3 separate regions of the Homo sapiens genome follow, and all the other regions are linked to region 1. The links are contacts of gene promoters, found by promoter capture Hi-C in human tissues and cell types (Jung and others, 2019). All regions are on one chromosome and are shown on one strand. The core of a region is centred on a gene start or on the middle of the fragment in contact, and the rest is flanking DNA. Distances in the headings are between cores, read along the strand shown. Region 1 holds the start of CLDN8 (claudin 8). Region 2 has its middle 17 kb from the start of CLDN17. Region 3 has its middle 12 kb from the start of KRTAP24-1.

Evidence for each region. The method cuts DNA at HindIII sites, captures the fragments that hold promoters and counts their contacts. A contact is called where the count stands out against the background at its distance.
Region 2: a contact is called between a fragment that was not itself captured here and the fragment with the promoter of CLDN8 in region 1, in 4 of the 25 tissues and cell types used here (aorta, mesendoderm cells, ovary and 1 more).
Region 3: a contact is called between a fragment that was not itself captured here and the fragment with the promoter of CLDN8 in region 1, in 2 of the 25 tissues and cell types used here (dorsolateral prefrontal cortex and stomach).

The regions. Positions count from the first base shown.
Region 1 is chr21:30,214,384-30,219,261 of GRCh38, forward strand. It overlaps CLDN8 (claudin 8), which reads right to left and starts at 1,714. Exons shown (of 1, transcript NM_199328.3): 1 at 1-1,714. The coding sequence starts at 1,542. The coding sequence ends at 865. The HindIII fragment of the contact is 13,225 bases long and covers 1-3,111 here.
Region 2 is chr21:30,181,510-30,186,158 of GRCh38, forward strand. No RefSeq gene overlaps it. Among named protein-coding and RNA genes, the nearest start is that of CLDN17, 17 kb to the left of the region's middle. The HindIII fragment of the contact is 5,375 bases long and covers 1-4,483 here.
Region 3 is chr21:30,268,379-30,273,200 of GRCh38, forward strand. No RefSeq gene overlaps it. Among named protein-coding and RNA genes, the nearest start is that of KRTAP24-1, 12 kb to the right of the region's middle. The HindIII fragment of the contact is 6,683 bases long and covers 1-4,822 here.

The DNA.
Region 1 (4,878 bases), core at 464-2,963:
AAATATATCCATACATATATGATTTCTTGTCAAAATGCATCATTCTTCTTCAAATACAAAAACAAAAATATTTTCACTTTCCTAAAACCATCACTTTTTCTTAGATCACACTTTTATCTTTCTTCTGAGTATAGCCCTGGAAAAGCAGTTTGAATGCAAAGCCCCTTGACAAAATATCTGCTTTTTAAAAATGTTAATTTAATACACAAGAAAAAAAAAGCCTCTGGGAGAAGAGGATAAAGAAGTTAGGATTTCTAACTCCTAGGCTAAAAAACAGCATATCAGAAAGCCATTCAATTTCCTTTACAATGCTGATTAAAGCCTTCATTTTAATCTTCATTATAAATGGAGGACATTAATCCCTAAGCTGTTTTTAAACAATTAATAGTAACCTTCTTCAACCCTATCCATGATTTCCCTGAAAAGCAATAGTTGAGTTCTATTTATTCAGTGTAATGGACTGGCATTTCATTTTAAATAAAACCATATAAGCATGTCTCTATGTGAGATATAAATGTTACACTCATCTATGTACATAATGCTATGTCGTGGAGAAATTACAGTAGTAAAATAATGCAGTCTTTAGCAATGTCATTTTGAAGTAAATGATAAAAAGAGTAGATGCTTGAACCACCTTAGAAAACAAATTACTATACTTTCTAGAACAATCAAAGCATTGGGTTTAATATCTCATTCTGCTGAAATAGCTTATAGAATCATAAATAGCTGATGCACAGTTCCTGTAATTAAGATTAGGCAGTTAAGAACAGTAAATCAAAGTTTCTTTGGGGTCCATTTTGAGAAAGTAATATAGATTTTTGTCATTTGCATGGCTTTATAGTAAAGTTAAAAAAACATACACAACTACACATACTGACTTCTGGAGTAGACGCTCGGTGACTTCTTTCCGGTGTGATAACTTTTTTGGGTTGTGCGATGGGAAGGTATCGAGTATCTGTAGCTACTGCTCTTTTCGTTGCAACAAAAAACGCAGCAGAACAGAGCTCCTCCAACAATCAGCACCAGTGCCGTGGTCCATCCTAAGTAGAGAGCTTCTCCAAGCTCACGTTTTTGGGCAACATTCACTATTGAGTTATAGAAATCTCTGATGATGGCATTGGCAACCCAGCTCACAGGGATGAGCACCACCATGCCCGTGATGATGAAGATGATTCCAGCCGTCAGCAGAATGTGAGCCTTCACCTTCTCATTGTCCCCCGTGCACCTGGTGCATTTCATGCCAAGGATGGCCATCATGAAAGCCAAGAAGGACATCACGGAAGCAGCACACATCAGTCCTCTGGCTGCCTGTAGGTCCGGAGAAAGAGCCAGCAGGGAATCATAGATTTTGCACTGCATCCTGATGTTAGCCTGCCTCACGCAATTCATCCACAGTCCTTCCCAGAAGTTTTCAAAAACCACGATGTTGTTTTCAATGAAGGCCGACACTCTCCACTGAGGCATGACAGTGACAGCCACTGTGCCCACCATTCCAACACCACCAAGAAACAGCCCAGCGATTTCTAAGGCATGGGTTGCCATTATCCTCTGGGATGAGTTTTAGCCAGCTGGACTCCGGAACTGCTACTTCTGCTTTGAAGCAGGGTTCTCTGTGCCACAGAAGAGAACAGTTTTTCCTGTAGTAATGAACTCGGAACCCAGTGGTTTTTCAAATAAGAGCTGCTTTGCTACTTCTGGCCAGATAGTATCCAGTGCTGGCTGGCTGAGATGGCCCTGCTATTGGCTGCAACAGGTAAACTTACAAATCAGGTGTGGCAACTTTCTCAGCCAATAAAAGGTGGATGGTAATCCAGGTGTGTCTAAACCAACACTTGGGTACTTGGAACAGCTAGACCTGCACATAAACATTCTTTATACTTCTCGGTCTTCCAAGAAGACAGCAGTATGTTTACCTGTAGGCATAGTTATAAGTGGTTGCATAAGCATCAAGAAATGAGCCGATCCCTTGTAATGTGAAAGGTGCACCTTGTACAGGCAATTCTGAAACTCTTAATAAGAGCTGCTGGGACCAAGGGATAAAATAAATTATCTGCCGAAGAATTCTGCAACGCTGTTGAAATGCCAAAGTGAAACGAGAGTAGGGGATTGAAAGATTGCTTTTACCTGGGAAGCCACATTCTTTGGGACACATGTGATCCAAGTGATTGATTTAATTTTTCTACAACTTCAAAGCAAGCTCTACTGTGGTGAAATCAGGGAACAGATCATGCCAGAGGACAAAATAAGCTAAAGTAATTAAATACACAAGGCTGTCCTTCTCCTTGGCACTGAAAACATATTGGAGTTCTTTAAGCCAGAAAAAATACTCATTGACACTTTTCTGATAATCTTCACTTATAAAAACATTTTTTGCCAAAATAAAAATCACCAGATGATTATCTTATGTATCCAGCACTATAGCATTAAAATAAGCTTATGAGCTTATTTTGTGGTGTTATTCTTGCTGCTTTGAATTCCTGGGCTGAAGGAACTAGAATTCTGAAGATGACACAAGACCCTTGGGCCTATACAAATGGCTGATATTTCAAAATAAGATATTTACAAGACAAGGGAACTATATTTACCAAACTGTATTATATTAGGTATTAACCAAATATGTTTTCCTACCTTTTAATATTATGTCTGCAGTAGGACATAGAAACCCCTAAACGCAAGACAATTTGAACTTTCTTCTCAAAATAATGATGCTCTAACAGTAGTGCTATACTAAGCATAAATGTTTATCTGAGAAAATTCGACTAGCAATTTTCTTCTGGAGATCACCTTAAGCTCTCTGTCTGATCTTTCCAAAGTTTAAGCTGCCACTTCATTTTCTTTTCTTCTTAACATCATAAAAAATGATTTTCTCTTTACAGTTTTACTTTCTCTCTGTTTCATTGGACTACCTTAAATCCAAATATGGGAGAAAATCGTTTCTGCTCACTGATTAAACTTTGAGAGTTTCATGGTTCAAAAAATCTGAGTCATTTGTGGATATTATTAAAACAAAAACTATATGGTAGAAAGGGCAAAAGGAGGATCAAGTAGACTGTCTTCTAAAAAAGAGGCAGGACAGACGCACAGTAGTATGAGTTGTTATAATTTTGTTAAACAGACGTTATAAACCTTATAAAAAGTTAAAACTTAATATTTACAGAAATATTCTCATTTGTTGACCTGTGAGGTGCCAAACTTCAGGGTGTCCCTTAGGCTGATGCAGAAAATATGCAGCATTTGGCCGGGGCGGTGGCTCACGCCTGTAATCCCAGCACTTTGGGAGGCCGAGACGGGCAGATCAAGAGGTCAAGAGATCGAGACCATCCTGGCTAACACGGTGAAACCCCGTCTCTACTAAAAATACAAAAAATTAGCCTGGCATGGTGGCGGGCGCCTGCAGTCCCAGCTACTCGGGAGGCTGAGGCAGGAGAATGGCATGAACCCAGGAGGCAGATCTTGCAGTGAGCCGAGATCGCGCCACTGCACTCCAGCCTGGGTGACAGAGCAAGACTCTGTCTCAAAAAAAAAAAAAAAAAAGAAAAGAAAATATATGACATTTTCTTCATCAAGTTTCTATCAGTTACAGATTTGTGGTGGAGGGAGACTTAGATTAATCTTGGGAAAATAAGATTTTAAAAGTTGAGATTTTAAACTTTCAAAGTTTAAGAAGTGAGCAGAAAACATTTTCTCCCATATTTGGATTTAAGGTAGCCCGATGAAGCAGAGAGAAAGTAAAATTTCAAAGAAAGGATCATTTTTATGATGTGAAGAAGAAAAGAAAATGAAGTAAAGCTTAAAGATTTTCCTTTTGTGCAATCCACAAAAGGAAAAATGACATATAAACAGAAGATATTTTTCATCTTTAATTGTCAAACTGGGAAAAAGGAGTGATTGACAGAACTGAAAAATGAAAAAGAAATAATATAACTGGTTGAGATAATGACTACGTGAAGCTACATTTTAAGGGATGTCAAGGCATATATTGCTTCATTGAAATTTCTTTTCGAATTCCCGTGTGGCATGTTTCTTAGGAGCTCTGTTTAAATATTGCTGACTATCCACATCAACACAGGAACGCATGAGACAGAAGCAGAAAGCTCTGCCTCTGAGTGCCTCAGCCGTTGTGGGAGCTGCTTCCCAGGTACGCATTCATATTTCTTGGCTTTGTGTATTACCAAACCTCTCTTCCCTTGAGGCTTGAATTTTACCAGGAACTTATTTTACATAAAAATATTTTCCTTATTTCAAAAATATTAGGTACTTTACTATTGAAATTGTTCTAGCCAAAAGATGAGGATCTGAGTGGGAAATTAACACTAGGTTCACATTAGAATTATTGTACAGTTAATTCCCTACTAGGAAGTGGCCCAGGGTTTCCAAATAGGTTCCTTATCAGACAATGATACAGTTAACTCCATAGTATTTATAAATAACCATGTCCTAAAAGACACTGGAATAAAAAGACAGAAAAAAATGGTAATATTGAGTTTGCTAAAGACAAAAGGGGCCTAAATTCAAAGATAAAAGGAAACTGTTATCTACTTTTCTGTCCTGCTGAATTGATTAACTTGGCTACAAAATTCAGATAGCAGTAATAGAGATATAACAGATTGATAACATTTTTACTCTAATTTAGAACTACAGAGCAAAATACATCGATTATTCAATAGTTTGTACTTCCATTTCCATGAAGAACCACAGTACTACCAAGAACCCAGGAGAGAAATGAGAGCTCATGTCAACCCCCTCTCCACCCTCCCTCGGGCTTTTCTGTCTGTCAACATCATCATAAGGCATGATTTAAGTTTAGCAATTAAATTTGCTAAACTGCATTCAGCCCTGATAATAGCATAACACAGGCAAATGCTTTTTCTTCCTAAA
Region 2 (4,649 bases), core at 546-3,045, 33 kb before region 1:
TATGTAATACTTCCCAAGTATGAAATAAAGTAATGAATATTTTGTATTGTTTAGTGGTTGAAAAAAAAAAAGAGAGACAGACACACCTCCCTCTAATAAAGAAAATTCAGAAAAGGGCATGATTTATTAAGACTCTTTATTATGGCTGATGTCATGGGACAGAACAATATTAATAAGAGAACAGATAATTGTACCATGGCCTGAGAAACAAAGACTTAATACAGATTATCTAACCTTACATCATTCTCAAGAGAAAGGGAAGGAGCAGGTGTAACATCTGCACTTGGCTGTGGGGAAAAAGTGAGAATACAGAGTAGCTCACTGACTTGGCCAAAAACATTCTGTAAATCAGTAACTAGAAAAATGTCTGTATTTTTGTTTTTGAGCATTCTTCTTTGAATTAATAATAATTCTTCAGGAACAAACTGATAGTATTCTTGGCAATTCTAGCACTTACATTTTCAAGTGTTTTTTACAAGAATATTGTGCTTTTCCAATGGCTCAAACTAAATATACTTAACTGACAAATAAATATTTATGAAGTATCAACAGTTTATCTAGCTCTCTGCAAATACCCTGTGTTGAAGAAGTTTGCCCATCTACCTAAAGAAGCAGGATGCGTAGTATTTAAGGGATCAACTAATTGATAATAAGAAAAATAGGTAATATATACTAAGATACCTTTTCCACCTTGCAATTGGCATGAATTTTCTCTTTACAACAATCCAATGATATAGGTACCAATTTTATTCACTCTTTGTACATGGGAAAATTGAAACAGAGAGAGATTAGGTGAACTGCCAACTAACACAGAAGCTGTCTGAGAGAGAAACCCAGACAAGGACACAATAGAGTACATATTTTCAATGGCTTTGCCATATGCACAGACCTTAACATCTGTCAATTAGTGGAGAAATGAGAGAATAATGTCCACAGAAATCATTGGAAAATACTAATGAAGGTTCAAGGTTCAAACCGGCCATTTAAAAATAATTAGTATATGCCTTAATCATTGGTCCTGGACTTGGGATATGCCATCTTAGGAACATTTTGAAATTGTGTGTGTGTGTGCATGTGTGTGTTTGTGTATGTGTGTGTTTAGAAGAGTGGAATTTGGTTGCCACAATGATTGGATGACTTCCTGGGCATTCAATAGATGGAGGCCTAATAGTCCTCCTTTATAAACAAGACATAAAATCATCAGTCCTGCACAAAGATGCCTTATCGTGTAACTTGTGTAACTTTCCAATGATCTTTTGGATAATAACTGAAAAACTTGTTTATGATCATGAACATAGAACTCTACTCCTCTTAGATTAAAACCCGAAGTAAATATTTTAATGCACAGTGAAGTTGCAGGAATGCAGAAACTAGTAAATCACAGGAAGGCTGACTTTTGATTTGTTTTGAACTTATACTAAGAGTTGTTCAACATTTAAAAAAATCATATCACCCATGGCAATAGTAGCCATGGAATTTGAGTCACAAATCTAATATCTGTATCAATCGGTCTTTCTAGCTCTCATATTTTGAGTGAATTCACATAAAAAACAAGCATCTGATAATTTTTATATCTTTCAGTGAAGATGTTCTTAGTCAATCACATAATAAAATATCTTTTAAATAAATTATTTTCCTTTAAAGTTTCCCTTATAAGTAGGGCATGCTGTTGGTATTTCCAAATGATTATTTTGTTTCATCTGTGACTTTCATTCCAGAATAAGCAACAGGACATTATACAATACTTGATATAAAAGGGTATGATAGAGCTGTGATGCCCTAGTTTAGATGAATGTATGCAGAAAGGGCATGGGGCATAGAGCTGTTTTATTTATTCTTTTTTCATTATTTCAACATATTTTTTGAGCACCTACTATGTGTCAGCCTACACTACTGTGCAGTGGTCCTAGAACAGTGAATAAGAGTAAATTCCTTATTCTCATAGCCTTTACTTTGTAGTAAAGAAACTAGCACTACTTAGAAATAAGACAAAATAAGGCCCACATATCCTTTCAATGTCATACTGGAACATTGCCTAATAAACTCAACCAAAGATTATTTAATTATTTAGGAGACTGTACTTTGTTTTATTCAGTATGTACTATTGGTTAGGGCTCAAATGTTGTAAAGTTGCATGCTAACTTATAGATTTTCTACTGTCTTTGTGAAAAGTAGAAAGATAAGTTCTGGTTTTATTGTTCTTTGGACACTAAAGAGACTTAATTTAGCAAGCTTATTTCAGTATGGCTTTCTTCTAATATTCTGCAATCAGCATTCCTAAACATAAAATGTATAAAACATGTTCATTGTATATATTGGCATAAGAGTCATATTTGAAACTTATTGAATATTTTAATTTCACACATTCTAGTAAGAGTCACAGTAAAGGGATGAGGTTGGAATAAACATTGAGAGCCTTAAGAGCTAGGCAAAAGAGATTAGCTTTTAAGATAGAAAATCGAGATCAATTATGTTTCTTAACCCGGTTATCTACTTGACAAGAAAGATACTAAGATGACACACAAAACCTGGGAAATATTTATTATATTTTTGTTAAATTTAAGTCAATGGCTATTTGATTTTAGTTAGAGAATCTTCTTGTGCTATTAAGCATAAAATATCAATTCAGCACTTCAAATGATATTCACAACTTTCTCTTGATATGGCAGGCTAATATCCTAAAATTCCCTCATATAAAGATTTAACATTCCCTCCTAAAAGTTTTTAAATTCCTTCATGTAAAAATTAAAAATTCTTGTGCTGGGTGCAGTGGCTCACGCCTGTAATCCTGGCATTTTGGGAGGCTGAGGTGTGTGGATCACCTGAGGTCAGGAGTTCAGGACCAGCCTGGCCAACATGGTGAAACCCCATCTCTACTAAAAACTACAAAAAATAGCTGGGTGTGGTGGCAAGCGCCTGTAATTCCAGCTACTTGGGAGGCTGAGGCAGGAGAATTGCTTGAACCTGGGAGGCAGAGGTTGCAGTGAGCCAAGATCACATGGCTATACTCCAGCTTGGGTGATAAGAGTGAAACTGTCTCAAAAAAAAAAAAATTGAAAATTCTTGGAGGAAAAAATATACTATCTAATGCCTAGGAAGTTTTTGAGAAAATAAGGTAACTTTTTCTAGAATAAGAATGAAGAAGAAATATAATTTTGGGGAGACCAGCCAAAGAAGCATCTATGAATGCCCTCAGAGAACCTTCCATTCCCTGGTGGGCTACAGTTGCAGTTAGAGTATTTGGTGCTCAGGGATTGGGACGTAAGCCTGGATTCAGATTAAAGATCTCAGAATAAAGTTAAGATTCTCAAGGAAGAACATCTTAAGGAGAAATATTAAACTAGAATAATTTGTCTGACCATTAAGTCAGACAAAAAAGAAAATTTATCTCAGCCTAATATTAGGTAGCCTGAGACATTCTATCCCTATAGAGATTTGGGCCTAGATTAATCCTATTTGCGTGGTTCACAAAATGCAGGCTGGGAATTTTAATCTAAAATGAATTTAGGTTAATAGTGCCCAAAGGTAAGTAACAAAAACAAACGAAACATTTCTCTGAGGGAATCAATGAATTCTCACAGATAGATCACCACTAGACAGGATTCACAATCACAAATCCCAAAATATACAAGGAAATATCAAGATATGTGTGAACTACACAAGCAAAAAAACAGCAGAATAAGACCTCTAAAAACTTGATATTAAAATCGTTGGGTACAGTAAGTAAAGTAAAATCTGTACAATGAAATGAAATATAGACTCAAGTAGCAAGAGTTTATCAAATAAGCAGGAGTATTTGAAACAAAACAAAGCAGGTAGAAATTTAAGAAATATTAAAATAAAAAACTGAAAAATTGTTTTTACAAGAGATAAAAAATAATTCGTTATTTGGAAGATACATTTAAAGAATTATTTACACATAACAATGGAAAATAAAGTTGAATGGTAAGAAAAAGTTTGAGTGTTCTGGAGGATAGAAAATGTCCAGCATCAGCCAAAGTGGGGTTATATTTAACTCGAATTAATATATACAATGGGGAAGGTCATATTCAACATGAATGATAATTTTTCAGAAAGTCAGATTCTGAAATTAGAATTCCCAAGTTGTCAGAATTAGGAAGCATGTTTAATTCTAAGCAGAGAAAAATATATTCTTTGCCAGATGTGTTGTGACAAACTACAGAACATCAATGACAAGACAGAAAAATGTTAATACAAGTTGAGGGAAAGAAAGACAGTTTGCTTACAAAGGAACTACAACTAGAATTATAGCTGCCTATTCAACAGCAAAAATTAAGCCAGAAGACAGTGGAATAGTATCTTTAAAAATAGGGAGAGATTTTTGCCTCTAAGAGAAATGCGGGAATATAGGATTTGGAGGGACGGATACAGAGAGCTTCTCTTCTAGAGCAGAGAAATATTTTCCTAATTTGTCTTGCTAATCTCCACTTCTCCAAACCCCAAATATATGCAACAAATATAAATGTCGTGGTTGTTACTTACTAAGCAGTGTTACTGAACGAGCTACCTGCTCTGATTTCAGAAGTAAATAAAACTTAGCCCTAGCCTTAGAGGATATTCTAGACAGAACAATGTTCTCTCCCCATTCCCAATGATGTCCACATCCGAATCCCCTTAATATAGAAAAA
Region 3 (4,822 bases), core at 1,500-3,999, 55 kb after region 1:
TTGCTTTTAATAATGGGCCCGTCTTGCTTTTGAAATAGGCATCTTTTATACTGAAATGATATTATAATTCACTAGAGAGAGATTCATTACAATGTGTGCCTATTCTAAACCTCACCCAAGAGTTTCTTTGCTCACATAGGTATAGGATAGTGACTCATACCACGGACCTTTGAGGCATAATTAAAGCAAAAACCTAAAATATTTTCTTCTTTAAGAAAAAAAACAGTCTTCTGGTCAACTACGTATTAAATGCACTTATGATTTTTATAGATGTAGCCTAAAATGACAAGTATATAGCATAAACTCTAAGAGTTAGCTCAGAAGAACAAATGCGGTCTGTGATGGTTATGAAGGTATGGTCTGTTTTAAACGTTACTTGTTATGTTCTGTCAACAGGGGGCACTAGAGAGTAACAGGCAGGAGGAGAAAGGAACTGTTCCTTCTTTGCCTTTCTGTTTCTGTAATGTCACTGTGGCAATGGCAGTTGGTTCCAGTTCCCCCCTCCCACCTTCTGATTTGAAGAACTAGTCTCATTGAATTCCCACCAGAGACCAGCACACCCCAACAGCAGTGCCCCCTCCATAGAGGTCTGGCTCACCATTCCACAGGGTCCCCCTGTTCCACCGTCTGAACTGTGCCTCTCTTCAGAGATCAGTCTCACTCCCCTAGCACTTATTGGATTCTAGCAACCCTGACTTCTTCCCTTTGTCCCAGATCTCACGGGTGAGGCTGCTTCCTGCAATTACTATCCCCATCATCTTGGCATTTCCAGTCCTCTAATACATGCCTAACCAATTCTCTATATTATATTGCCCTGGTTTCTGTTTTCCTGCGTGGACTCTGAGCAGTTGCCCAATGCTAGGCATACCATATACATTTAGGAAAAGTTAAACTCCCAAATGGGCTTTCTCCAACCACTCTGGATCCACAGCTAACATTCAATATCCAAGTCAGTTCTAGAACATGTCAGCATCATCCACTCATCAAATCAGTAGTCATGTGAACAGATGGTGCTCAGTAGCACTTCTAGAAGTAAAATGTTAAAGAAGAAAGTTCTCAAACAAAAACCCTTGACCATCATACTTATTGCACAGTATCTTTGCAATTAGGGCAAGGGTCAAAAGCCGGCAATATGAACTGGTTTCTGAGAAATAAGCTTAAATTATTTATGCATTCTTTAAAATTGTTTCTAAGTTACATTATTTTACAACTAAAGTTGCCTCCAGACAAGAATAACGAGAGAGAATGAGACAAAGAAAAAGGATGTTTGGGGGTACGGGGCAAAGGAAACAGAACTGCTTGTTCTTGCCTTATGTTGAAATTCCATTCTTCAGACTGATTTAGCAACTATAATAAAACTCACTCAGCAGTTTGAAAAACTAAATAAAAATTATCCTCATTGCTTTTTCTGAGCCTGTAAAAGATTGTAGTTTTTAATGATAATCCATTTGTGGAGTCTTCCATTGCCCACTATCTCTCCCTGTGATCAGGTTATATTCTGGTGCCCGGCTAAAATCAACTTTTGATCTTCAGCATTCCTTGAGTTTCTAATTATGATGATCTCACCTATCAGTGTGCCTCTCCTTTCTTTGTTTGCATTTTCCTTTTATTTTATGGCTGTAGAAATAAACACATGTTATCTCTGGATCTTCATATCAGGAGGGGATATATGACTTGATAAGCTTTCTCATCAGCTGTTGAAAATAGTCAGATTCCAGCCCAACCAAACTGGAGTTAATATGTTGCTTGCAAAAATATGTCAGACTTTTTATTGTGTTACTCTTTTAAAAGGTTAATAATTGTAGAGTTTAAATGGTCAAGGTTAAGGTGAACCTTATTATTACCTGATTATGATATTTAATGTCTTTAGTTGTGAAATCAGTTCCATCAGACATGGGGCCTGGTGTCTACTGAAAGCTTTAATGATCTGGCCCGGGGTCCAGGCAGATTTTACTAGTACACTTAGGTACATGTGTTTTACAAGAAGGGTGGAGTCTCTCAGTTAAAATGACTGCAGTTTGCAGCTTCTCTTCCGAAAATTAACTCATGGAGGAAATTCTGGTCTCCTATGGCACTTCCTCTGTTTTTCTTCTTTTGAAACATAAATTAGCATTAGCCCAAACACAGGGTCTTGAGGAAATATGTAAGTTAGGTATAAAGCTTCCATTGGTAGCTCTTGGCAATTCAGTAATTAAGGTGTAACAAAACTAAATGCATCTCTACTGATTTAATGGCTTATTTGTGACATGTAATAAAAATATGCCTGTATCTTTAAAAGTCATTGCCTGGGCTTGGATGGATTCGATAAACACTTTGGGAAGGGAACATGCGGAAGGAAGGCATAGTTAAACACCATAAAAAATTTTAACAGAGGTTGGGGCCAGGAGTGTTGGCTCATGTCTGTAATCCCAACACTTTGGGAGACTGAGGCAGGTGGATCACCTGAGGTCAGGAGTTCGAGACCAGCCTGACCAACATGGAGAAACCCCATCTCTATTAAAAATACAAAATTAGCTGGGCATGGTGGCGCATGCCTGTAATCCCAGCTACTCGGGAGGCTGAGGCAGGAGAATCGCTTGAACCCAGGAAGCTGAGGTTGCGGTGACCCGAGATCGCACCGTTGCACTCCAGCCTAGGCAACAAGAGTGAAACTCTATCTAGAAACAAAACAAAAACAACAACAACAACAAAAAAAAAGCACAGTTTATATCTAGAATGATAGAATCATCATATTTTAGAGGTGTAAGTGTTCATTAAATTCAACCTCTTCTTTTTTTCTGGTAGGGAATCTGAGGCCCAGAGACAAAATGTGACAATACCAGCACTAGAGAATAACCTCCTATTCCCAAGCCCAGTCTCCTTTTACGACTCTGTGCCCTGTCTCTTGTCTCCAGTCATCTGCCTGACTTGGCTGCAGTGACAGGCATCATCTCTACTTCCCACAAATATGTATGTGGTCCCACAGGCCACCAGGCAACTATCCAAATGGCCTTTAGATTTTATGTAGAAAAGTTGAAGGACTGTTCACTTGCAAGAATTCATTGGTTTTATATTTTAAAGACTTAAATGATCCGGGAAATTGCTTTCTCGGTCCCATGTTCTGTCTCAGGATAGCAAAATATATAGGGCATCCCTGCGATTGGACACAGACTTCTAAAATCAACACGATGTTTCTAACAGCCTTGTTCACTGATACCCTCAACCCTATTTGGTAGTGATCATGAAAACCCTCTGCCTTTAACAGTTTATTTTAGAATATGTTGCATAGCTATTTCTGAAGCTGTTTACATGGAGATAATGATAAATATGCACCAAGTTTCATGTATGGAATAAAGTTTCATAACTTGGTAAACAGATGTTGACGGCATGGAATGATGTTTTGCAATCACTGAAAACAGCAGAACTTCTGGGCTTGGGACTCTGGGGTTGAGGTCCCCTTATGCTTTTGATTACCACAGAATGTGAGCCTACACTGGAATCAGAAGAATAAAATTGTGCCCTAAATTTAGATTAGAGAAGGATTTGGGGCTGGTTTTGTGTCTGGTTAAACCATCATCACCTAAAATTATTGTTTCAGTGTGTGCTTCCTGGAAATATGTATCCCAGAATATTTTTTGAATTTTTATTTTTAGAGACAGTCTTGTTCTGTTGCCCGGGCTGGAGTGCAGAGGGGTGCAATTATAGCTCACTGCAGCCTCAAACTCCTGGGCTCAAGTGATCCTCTCATCTCAGCTTTCCAAACAGCTGGGACTATAGACATAATCATGCCCAGCTAATTTTTATATTCTTTTCTTTTTTATTTTTAGAGGTGAAGTGAAGTCTTACTACTTTGCCCAGGCTGGTCTTCAGCTCCTGGCCTGAAGCCATCCTCCCATCTCAGCCTCCCTATTAGCTGAGATTACAGGCTCAAGCCAACATGACCAGCTCTTCCAGGAATTGTGTATAATAATTTTTCTGCCACGGTATGGCTGTGGTTGAGAAAACCTTCACTGTGCCTTCACATTCAGGTTGGTTAGGTACTTTTTAGACTAATGAGTTCATGCATTCTCTGGAATGAGTAGAGAAATGTTCCTTGAAAACCACCACAACTATCTTGATCAGATAGAGCTGTCATACCTGGTCCCTGGAATACTTGTGCTTTTATATTATGTTTCTATTAATATTTTATAACACTACTATGGTTTTTTTTTATCTAAAAGCAGAGAGAACTGTAGATGTTCTATGCCTCTGGCTGGATTGCACTGTTACACTTAAAATCTCTATTACCTATCTTTCAAGAGAGGCAAGGAAAAAAAAGGAAAAAAAAATACGCTGGCTAAGTTCTCTCTTCTTTATCAACAGTTTTCTAAGTTATGGAGATAACATTCTTTATTATGATAATTATGCCCATGTCTTAAACCAATAATTAAAATAGAAAAAAAGCAGTAAATATGTATTTTCAAAAATAGTAGAACTATGACTTCTGGATATATACATAACAAGTTTAAGAATCATGATGAAAAGACATATATGTGTATTCATACACATCTATAAGCTCACATACCTATTCACAATTATTCATAAAGTTAGCATAGTTATTGCCTTTATCTGATTCCAAGATAATCTTCAAAGAACCCATTAGCTTTAGTAGAAATTCAAACATTAGTCATCATCCACATTAAGAGTTTGTAAGAGATGGAATTCAGAGAGTCAGATGTGACTTACCGTGGTGGGGAGGCCTGGGGCAGGATGAGATTAATTCATCTCCAGTTTGAGGGTCTTTCTAGTTTATTGGGATGCCAAGGTTATGTGTTTTCAAGTCAATGATTCTCATATGAGGCCA